3 separate regions of the Homo sapiens genome follow, and all the other regions are linked to region 3. Evidence: promoter capture Hi-C in human tissues and cell types (Jung and others, 2019). All regions are on one chromosome and are shown on one strand. The core of a region is centred on a gene start or on the middle of the fragment in contact, and the rest is flanking DNA. Distances in the headings are between cores, read along the strand shown. Region 1 overlaps BTRC (beta-transducin repeat containing E3 ubiquitin protein ligase). Region 2 has its middle 13 kb from the start of BTRC. Region 3 holds the start of NPM3 (nucleophosmin/nucleoplasmin 3).

What was found. Contacts are between HindIII fragments. The study calls those that stand out against the background at their distance.
Region 1: a fragment that was not itself captured here is called in contact with the fragment with the promoter of NPM3 in region 3 in 1 of the 25 tissues and cell types used here (neural progenitor cells).
Region 2: a contact is called between a fragment that was not itself captured here and the fragment with the promoter of NPM3 in region 3, in 1 of the 25 tissues and cell types used here (lymphoblastoid cells).

The regions. Positions count from the first base shown.
Region 1 is chr10:101,525,745-101,528,686 of GRCh38, forward strand. BTRC (beta-transducin repeat containing E3 ubiquitin protein ligase) reads left to right here. Exons shown (of 15, transcript NM_033637.4): 6 at 269-455. Among named protein-coding and RNA genes, the nearest start is that of POLL, 61 kb to the right of the region's middle. The HindIII fragment of the contact is 3,858 bases long and covers 1-2,942 here.
Region 2 is chr10:101,339,861-101,343,153 of GRCh38, forward strand. No RefSeq gene overlaps it. Among named protein-coding and RNA genes, the nearest start is that of BTRC, 13 kb to the right of the region's middle. The HindIII fragment of the contact is 3,205 bases long and covers 85-3,289 here.
Region 3 is chr10:101,781,820-101,784,774 of GRCh38, forward strand. It overlaps NPM3 (nucleophosmin/nucleoplasmin 3), which reads right to left and starts at 1,627. Exons shown (of 6, transcript NM_006993.3): 1 at 1,454-1,627; 2 at 1,020-1,105; 3 at 659-778; 4 at 439-532; 5 at 1-35. The coding sequence starts at 1,571. It overlaps OGA (O-GlcNAcase), which reads right to left. Exons shown (of 16, transcript NM_012215.5): 16 at 2,631-2,955. RefSeq lists an enhancer at 555-1,194. The HindIII fragment of the contact is 4,177 bases long and covers 1-2,664 here.

The DNA.
Region 1 (2,942 bases), core at 180-2,679, 260 kb before region 3:
TAATGTCTTGGGGGGTTTGCTGGTTGTTAGCTTTAACTTCCTTATCTAAAGGAAGATGGAAAATACTGTTCATTTCTGTAACCTTATGGAAAAATTATTGACACTCATTTTACCCAAGCCTCTGTTTGAAAAAGAAACTGGACCACACTAGGGACAATGATGTGCCTTCATAGCAGAACAAATGCTGTTCTGTTTTAAAGGACCTTTTGTAAAAAATCATTCGCCACCTTCTGTGTTCTTTTTCTTTGCCTCCTCCCCCTACTGAAAGCTCGGGGATTGGATCATATTGCTGAGAACATTCTGTCATACCTGGATGCCAAATCACTATGTGCTGCTGAACTTGTGTGCAAGGAATGGTACCGAGTGACCTCTGATGGCATGCTGTGGAAGAAGCTTATCGAGAGAATGGTCAGGACAGATTCTCTGTGGAGAGGCCTGGCAGAACGAAGAGGATGGTGAGCCTTTAACTTTTCTTACTCTTATACGGCTTCAGGACCTGGCCATTCACAGTCACTGAAAGATTTTTGGGGAGCCAATGAGACCACTTCTCATTTAATATGGTGATTTTGTTGATTTCTAGCTTAAAATGTAACAGAGAACAAATGTTCATATACTCAGCAGTTTTTCTTCTTACCTGTCACTCACAAAATGACATGATATTGTATTAATACTGCTTTGCAAAAAATAATGGAAAGCTGATCAGCCCTCCTGTTTAAAACATTCTGTTATCTGGGCAGAAGTTGGTATCCTGTGGCTGGGCACAGTGCGTTCACGCCTGCAATCCCAGCACTTTCGGAGGCCAAGGTGGGCAGATCACTCGAGGCCAGGAGTTTGAGACCAGCCTGGCCAACGTGGCGAAACCCCAACTCTACTAAAAATACAAAATTTAGCCGAGTATGGTGGCGTGCACCTGTAATCCCAGCTACTGTAGAGGCTGAGGCAGGAGAATCGCATGAACCCTAGGTTTCTTTCAGAAAATTTCTTGCCTTTATCTTATGCCTCTGGTGTTTTGTCACCTTTGTAATCAAAAATTATTTTTAAGCCCAAGTGGAATAAGAACTCTAGCCATCAGAAAAAGTGAAAATGAAATTAAGTATAAATCATTGTTTCTTCTTAAGACTTCTGTTTTTCAAGATTTTCTGACTTAATTCCGAATTCCCCAAAGCATCATATAGTTAGCAGTCTAAGAGACTTCACTAATTTTTTTGTTGTTCTCTTAACAGTACTATTTCATTAGAACTTCTGAAAGATATCTTTCTTTAAATACTTTTCTCTCAGAGTATGTCTCTAGAATGTCACTATAGGAAAGCTACGTAGTAATAGTTCACAAATAAAGGTGACATATTAAATATTCTCATTGACAGAAAAAATTATAATAGGCATGTGTGTGCTTAGTGATGTCCTTCCAAATTAATTTTATCAGTTGTTTATCTTGGATCATAAAGAGGAAAACAGTTAAAAGTAGAGAACACTTTTAAAAGATAAATATTCATGGGCCAGCTTTCCTTTGAATTTTCATGAAAAAGTAGTTGGCTCTCTTTCTTTTTTTCTATCTTTGAAATTTATTAACACATAATAAATACAATGACCTATAAATATTATACCAAATGCCTCAGATTTTTATCATTCTGGCTATTAGGAAGACTGTTTAAATTTTTCTCTCAAATTGAATTAAAGGAACAAAAAAACTAGGCAATTTTTAGGCTGTGTAACAAAGAATATTGTTGGCCGGGTGGGGTGGCTCACGCCTGTAATCCCAACAGTTTTGGAGGCCAAGGCAAGAGGATCGTTTGAGCCCAGGAGTTTGATACCAGGCTGGGCAACATATTGAGACCTCATCTCTACAAAAAAATCAAAAAATTAGCTGGGCCTGGTGGCGCATGCCTGTAATCCCAGCCACTCAGGAGGCTAAGGTGGGAGGATGGCTTGAGTCTGGGAAGTTGAGGCTGCAGTGAGCTGTGGTCATGCCACTGCACTCCAGCCTGGGCAACAGAGCAAGACCCTGTCTCTTTCTCTGTCTCTCTCTCTCTCTCTCTCTCTCTCTCTCACATACACACACACACACACACACACACAAAAGAATATTATTACTACTTCTCAAATATGTTTTTTAATTCTTATTTCGCTACATAGAAAAATAGAAATCTTTCATAACCTACTTCATACTTTGGAAATAAACTCTTTAATAGTACAACAAAGCAAATAAAAATGGAGTTATATGGTATTCGGGGTCCATCATTTTGCTAAGAGTGCTGGGACCAGCCTTGGGGATACAGCAGGCAGTTGCTTACATGAGAAAATTTTAGGGCAGCTGAGAAGATTTCTGTATCCCTCAGAAAAAAAGAATCTCGTCTCCAAATAACTCCTGAAATTTCAGTTAAGGAGATTCATTCCTTTAGCTATAAAGGTTCTGTTACCTGTTAAAATACATTGTGTTCCCATTTGGACTGTAAATGACAGTAAACCTTCATCATAAATTGGGAGTTTACTGAGTCCTTTTTTGAAGGCAGAAAGATCAAGAAGTAAGTGGGCAGTTCTTGGCAGATGGATGTGAAAATGCCAAAGGTAAAAGGCTCCACAGTTTTGCTTGGGATTGGCACTAAATGGCAAGATCTTTTATGTTAGTTACAAAGAAAAAACAATCATTGAGAAGATGGCTTTTGAGCCTTTCTAAAGGGTAGGTGAAGTAATCCAGGATCCAGCACTAATTACCACTTTTTTCCCCTATCTCTTTATCCACAGAAACCCATTCCCGCTCTTTTGAGTATCCTTCAGAGTTCTGACTATATCCCCTTGTCTTTGGGCATGTTTATCCTCTTAATCCCATGATAAACCCATGAAATTCCAAATACTTATACATCCCGTGTCAACTTCCTCCATTATTCCCTCGACTTTCTTGTTGCTGCTTCTGTTTTTACATGTTGACTTTATTCCTGTGTCAG
Region 2 (3,293 bases), core at 437-2,936, 440 kb before region 3:
CCTGGGCAAACTGCTTTCCATAGATTGTCTCCTCCTGGTCCAGCTAAATCTGGACTACTGAGTCTAAACCAGAGGGTCAGTCTCCGGGGCTCTGCTGTGAATGAGGCAGACTCTCAGACCAGCACTGGAATCAGCAGGGAGAAGCCAGGGGTTGGGCATAAAGTTTAGACAGATTGCTGACAGTTGAGACAGGTTTGGGACAGTTCTCTGACAGAGACTGAAGAGTAATGTTTGGTCATGCGTCCATTTAATAACTATGTAGAAAAGTGCTTGCTAAGGATAAGGGAACTCTATGCTCAGGAAAGCTTTGAGATCAGAAACAGATCAGTACAGCACTTCGTGACCTTAATATACTGTAAGCTGCTTTTATAGTTATGAAATGATATGATACCAGACATTTGCATCCATATGAGCCAGAAAAGGGTGAAAGAAGTGGGTAAGGGCACACACAAAACAAAACTGACTATAAGTCAGTATTTTTGAAGCTGGGTAATGAGTAAAAGGAAATTTATTGTATTATTCTCTTTACTTTTTTATATGTTTGAATGTTAAATTCAAAGTTAAATATACATACCCTGGCCGGGCACCGTGGCTCACGCCTGTAATCCTAGCACTTTGGGATGCCAAGGGGGGTGGATCGCTTGAGCTCAGGAGTTCGACACCAGCCTGGGCAACACGGTGAAACCCCGTTTCTACTAAAAATACAAAATTAGCTGGGTGTGGTGGTCAGCACCTGCAGTCCCAGCTACTTGGGGGCTGAGGCAGGAGGATCCCTTGAACCTGGGAGGTCGAGGCTGCAGTGAGCCAAGATGGCACCACTGTACTCCAGCCTGGTGACAAAGTGAGACCCTGTCTCAAAAATAAAATAAAAATAAATAAATAAATACACACATCCATATTCTTCCATGCCTTTTTTCCTTTTCTGTGTGTGTGTGTGTGTGTGTGTGTGTGTGTGTGTGTGTGTGTGTGTTTAATTTTAGTTGTTTTCTTTTTCCTGGTTGTTTTGTTATTCTGAATTAAGGTGCTTTAAAAAAAATAGCCAGTTCAGGCAAGCATGGTGGCTCACGCCTGTAATCCCAGCACTTTGGGAGGCCAAGGCAGTTGGATCACTTGAGATCAGGAGTTTGAGACTAGCCTAGCCAACATGGTGGAACCTCATCTCTACTAAAAATACAAAAAAAAAAAAATTAGCCAGGCGTGGTGGTACCTGTAATCCCTACTCAGGAGGCTGAGGCAGGAGAATCACTTGAACCCGGGAAGTGGAGGTTGCAGTCAGCCGAGATCATACCAGGCTGGGCGACAGAGTAAGACTCTATCTTAAAAAAAAAAAAAAAGCCAGTTGGGTGCAGTGGCATAGCTACTTAGGAGACTGAGGTGGGAGAATCACTTGAGCCTAGGAGTTCAAGACCAGCCTGGGCAACATAGTGAGACCCTGCCTCTAAAACGAGAGAGAGAGAGAGAGAAACGTACATAATGAATAAACAAGCAATCAATCATTTATTTAAAAATTTTAAAAAATAGCCTATCTTAGTTGCGATAAGGACAAACCAAGTCAAATGGTTTTTTTGGGCCAGTAAGAAAAAGATAGTTATGGGTTCCTAATATCCAGGTGCCTATAAAGGGGACATTCATAGGAGAGTCCCATGAAGACAAATAGTCTGGGGTGGGAGTCCAGACCTCTTTGGACAGCTGCCCTGGTTCTCTCCTTCCCTTTGCTGCCCCTTCTCAGGGTTGTTCCTCTCAAAATATGTTTCTTGATGCATGAATGACATTGCATTTAATTTAAGAGGCAATTCTCTGATAAGAAAGTCCTGCCTTTTCCCCACTTCCTGCCCCAACCTGCTCCCAGACCTCCTGGGGTTATAGCCTGGCTATCTGGATTTCTCTCTGCCTACTAATTTGCTTGTCATCAAAGATCCTTCCCACTGAAAGCCCCCCTTGATTTTTTTCCTGGTACCTGCTTCTGGGGCCTCCCTCAATGACCTGCCCTGCCCTGAAGTTCTGTCCAGCTGCCAGCTCTCATCCACCCCCAAACCAGTCCCATGCTAAACTCTTCCTTTTGCCTTTCTAGAGGCACTCTCCATCCTTTCCCAGCCCTCTCTGGACCTGGGAGATGAACACAAATGGACTGCATCAAAGGCTCTCTTGTCCTCTGGCTTCTGTTTGTGTTTAACCAAAAGGAGATATCAGAAGATTAAAGAGCAGGAGGATGCTGGTATATGATTCTTCCAGATCCCTCCCTGCTGGGCTGCCATGAAAGGGCTACATCCCTTTTTGAATGCCATAGCTATGGTCAAGTGGTCCTTTCCCCACAGCCACCTTCTCAGGGTCTTGGTAACTATGCCCTTCCCTTGGCCCTTGGGGCCTAGGAGTAATATGGTTGTCTGCTGTTGCTAGCTGAGGGGTATGCACTAGCCCTTGTTGGTCTCCCTTCACTCTGTCCACACCTTTGCAAATAGGTCCTTAATTAAACCCTTCTGAAATTAATCAAGTCTACATATGCCAGGACTGTGACTGATACAAATCCATACTATTGTCAAAAGAGCCCTAGTTAGTATCTATTTTTATGTCTTGTTTCCTTCACATAATGGAAAGCTTCTTGAAGGCAAGGCCCATCTCTTATCTGCAGAGTGATAGACACAAGGAAAATAGTGAGTTTTTAACACTGACTCTTAGAAGTAATCCTGACCTCGATCACCTCTTCCTCAAAAGGCATTTTTTAGGAGGGAAGGGGTATCCAACGAAATATAGCTGCAGACGATGTAAATGTCTGGGAAATTAAAGCAGCCAGATAAAGGAAATCACCAGCTTGAAGACATGGTAGTGGGGGAGTCTGGACAAATGCCAGTTAAAGATAAAACAACCTGTTCAAACTTTGACTAAACTATACAAAATAAAGTATGTTAAACAATGTTGGTCAAAAAGTGTCTAAGAAATCCAGGCACAGAAAGCAAGGGAAAGATAGCTTTGTCAGCACTGAAGACTAAAAACTGATTAATCTCCCAACCTGGGAAACATATGTAGCAAATATATGAAGTATATCTTTATAACCAAGGTGAATACTCTTTTTGTTTGTTTAGACATGAATTCCTGCTTTGGATACATGTGTTAATAAATAAAAAACTGTCACTGCATTTAAGATCTGGAGTTAGACTACCTGTAAAAGAACCCTGGTTCCATAAGATATTACAGAAATGATGGAAGGTGACGCCCAAGGCTAGGTTATACAAGGTACTGGGGCTTCTGCCTTAGTCTGGGAAAAATTAGCCACCATGTTGTGAGGTCCCATAAGC
Region 3 (2,955 bases), core at 377-2,876:
GCTCTCCTCCTCAGAAACATCATTGCTCATCGTAACTGGTGGACACACAAGCAGTAGAAGGATGGGGTGTTAAGACCAGACCGTTTCACACCGCATGCCATTTCTTCACGCCGTGGTGTTAGGCTTACAGGGACCATGACCTCCCAGTGCTTATGGGCTAGGTGGGAAGAACCTCAGACCCTAAACTGGGTCACAAAGAGCCAAAGGAGTCTTCATTATTGGAGCTGGAGAAGTTGGGCCATGTTCCATGGAGGAGGTAGGCTTGAGTAGACGGAAAGGAGAGGGCATGTCATGCACAGGGCACAGCGTGGAGGGCACACAGACCTGTACAGGGCTGCACTGGGAGATGAGGGTGGGATGGGGCAGGAGTGCGGAGTGGGGGAAGCCTGATGGGAGAGTCCACTGGAAGCAAAGGAGAGGGCCCTCCCCTCTTCTCACCAATCTGGTGCCGCCCAGTGATCCGCACAGGGCCAGAGCCCGACTTCAGGCGGAAGGTTACAGGTGGTTGGAGCTGGAAGTCATCCAGACTGAGCTGGGAGGAAGACAAGGATGAAGGCCTGGCCCACTCCTAGCCCACCCCACACTGTAATGAGTGCTAACGTCCTCAATCCCCTCACCACCACCACCACCACCACCAAGGCAGAGCTGGGGAACTCACCATGGGTTGGCAGGACAGCTTGAGGTTGGCCACAGGGACTGCGATCTCCTGATGGTCATGGTTCCGGGCCACAACTTCTACCACATTACACTCGTCTTTGGCTCCCTCGGTGAGGCAGAGCTGGGAACGGTACACAGGGCCTCAGGGTCTCCTCAAGTGAGGGTTGACACCACAACTAAAGGCATCTACCCTAGCACCTGCCCAGCCTCAGAGGTCCCGGTTCACCTGGCCAGGGGAGCCGCCCATGCCGGGGGGTTAGGCTGAGGATGTGTCTCCAAGTAAAGGGGATCCGGAGGTTGGGTAGAGACCTATATTGCCTGCCTGGGCTTATTCATTAAAACCCCACTCCCCTGCCCCTCACCATGGTTAGTGCCAGCACGTGCTCCGCATCATCCTCTTCCTCTACCTTAAAGGTGAAGGAGCGGGTGTGGCCGGAGAGCTCACAGCCTGGTAGAAATAACAGTGAGTATGCCTGAGCGTGTGTACGGGGCTGGGCAGCGGGGGATGTCACCAACCCGCCGTCACGTGTAACCTTGGGCGGACGGGTCATTTACACGTCCACCTCCGTCTCTTCTCTCAGAACACCTGGGACGCTCTGCCGTGGGCCCCGCCCAACACATCTGGGGCAGGGATCTCGCCACCCCCTTTGGCTGTGCGTGCGAGGCCCCCTCTCCTGCGGGAACAGCGAAGCAGCCCTCCGCCCACACCCACGCCTTGAAACCCTCCGCATTCCCGCCTCACATCCCTACCTCTTACCGCCCCAGTACCACCCTCAGCCTCTCCCTTCACTAATACCGAAGAAAAAACTGTCCATAGTGACCGGGGCCGGGACCCGTAGGCCCCCGACACCCCCGGCCCGCGTTCGGCTCTCCTGACTCAAAAACGCTAAGGCAGCTGCAGTACCGGCGGCCATGCTGTAAGAGCCTTCTTCAAACTCCGCCCCCGACACGCACAAAGCCGGGGACCCTCGGCCAGTTCCGGCCCCGCCCATTAAAGGAGACGCACAGTCCTGGAAAAGAAAAGGCGCCGAGACCCCGCAGCCCTACCCGGAGCCCGCAGCTTCTGCTCATATTTTATCAAGACCGAAGAGAAAGGAAGTAACATCACAGAAGAATGGATTTGGGGTTTATGTTAACATCCTTGCTCATTTCCACGACCATGAGGGTGTCCACTTCCCCAAGCTCCTCGCTCTGTGTCGGAAGAGTGTCTCCCACTCTTCCAACCCAGGGTAAGCTTTCGTTAAAGGAGTTATAGATATAAAAATGTAAACCCTTCTTACTCCTCCCAGCAAAGGTGGGGTTCAGGGCAGTGCTTTTCTGCTACAAGCAAAGGAAATGCACTCAGATTGTCTTTGCCTCAAGAGAGCCGAGGAGCCTTAGGAATTTCCATCCCAACACGTCTGTCCTGTCTGTCCTCTCGGCTAAGCCTCTCTTAATTCTTCCTGCTCTAAAGACCCCGCAACTTGCTATGCCTTCACTGAGACTTAGCTGCTGGCACTTGCTAGCAGAGGACTAGTTAGCTCATGTGTGTTGGCTGTTCCTGGCCCACCCACGCTTTTTGAGCTTTTAATTCCAAATCATCCAGGAGTATCTTTGCGCCGTGGATTATTTTGTCAGTTTATGCTACTCGCGCCATCTTTCGCCTTTTAAGAATCAGGCAAACTGTGTGCTTTCTATCCTAATAGATGGCAAAACTCAAACTAGAGGCCCTATTTCACATCCAGGTTATAACTGTGGCAAGAGGGTGGGGTGGCTTGGCTAAAAACTAGTCTACTTTTCTTAGCTCTTGTCTTAATGAAAATCTGGAAGTCTTACTGGTGATGGAGGTAGGGGAGGGCTGCCTTCAAGATCCAATCTCTAACTTGGAACAGCTGTGGAGAGGAGAGAATACCTGCTTGTAGGTGAGGCATGAAAGAGGAGAAAAGGGAGGGGGCAGACAGGAAATAGATTCACACAATACAACACGACAAGCATTCACTTCAAGTTTTATTTTGCCTCTTGCATGGTCTTTTACAGTTCGTTTTCTACAGGAACTGAGCTCTGATCCAAACAATCAATAAAAATGTAATTCCAACCTTAATATTCATAACCAGGAAATAGCATAGCACTTCATGATCCTAGAGTGATGAAAGCAAGACCAGGGCATCTGTTTCACAGTCACCTGTGACCAGACCAGCCAACATGATTACTAAAAGCCAAGATAAAACCAAAAGCAAACTTGCTAAAAAATCCTGAATTCCATGAGGTTAACTCTGAAATCCTCCAAACAAAATGCTAGAATTGTCCACTAGTGTTAAG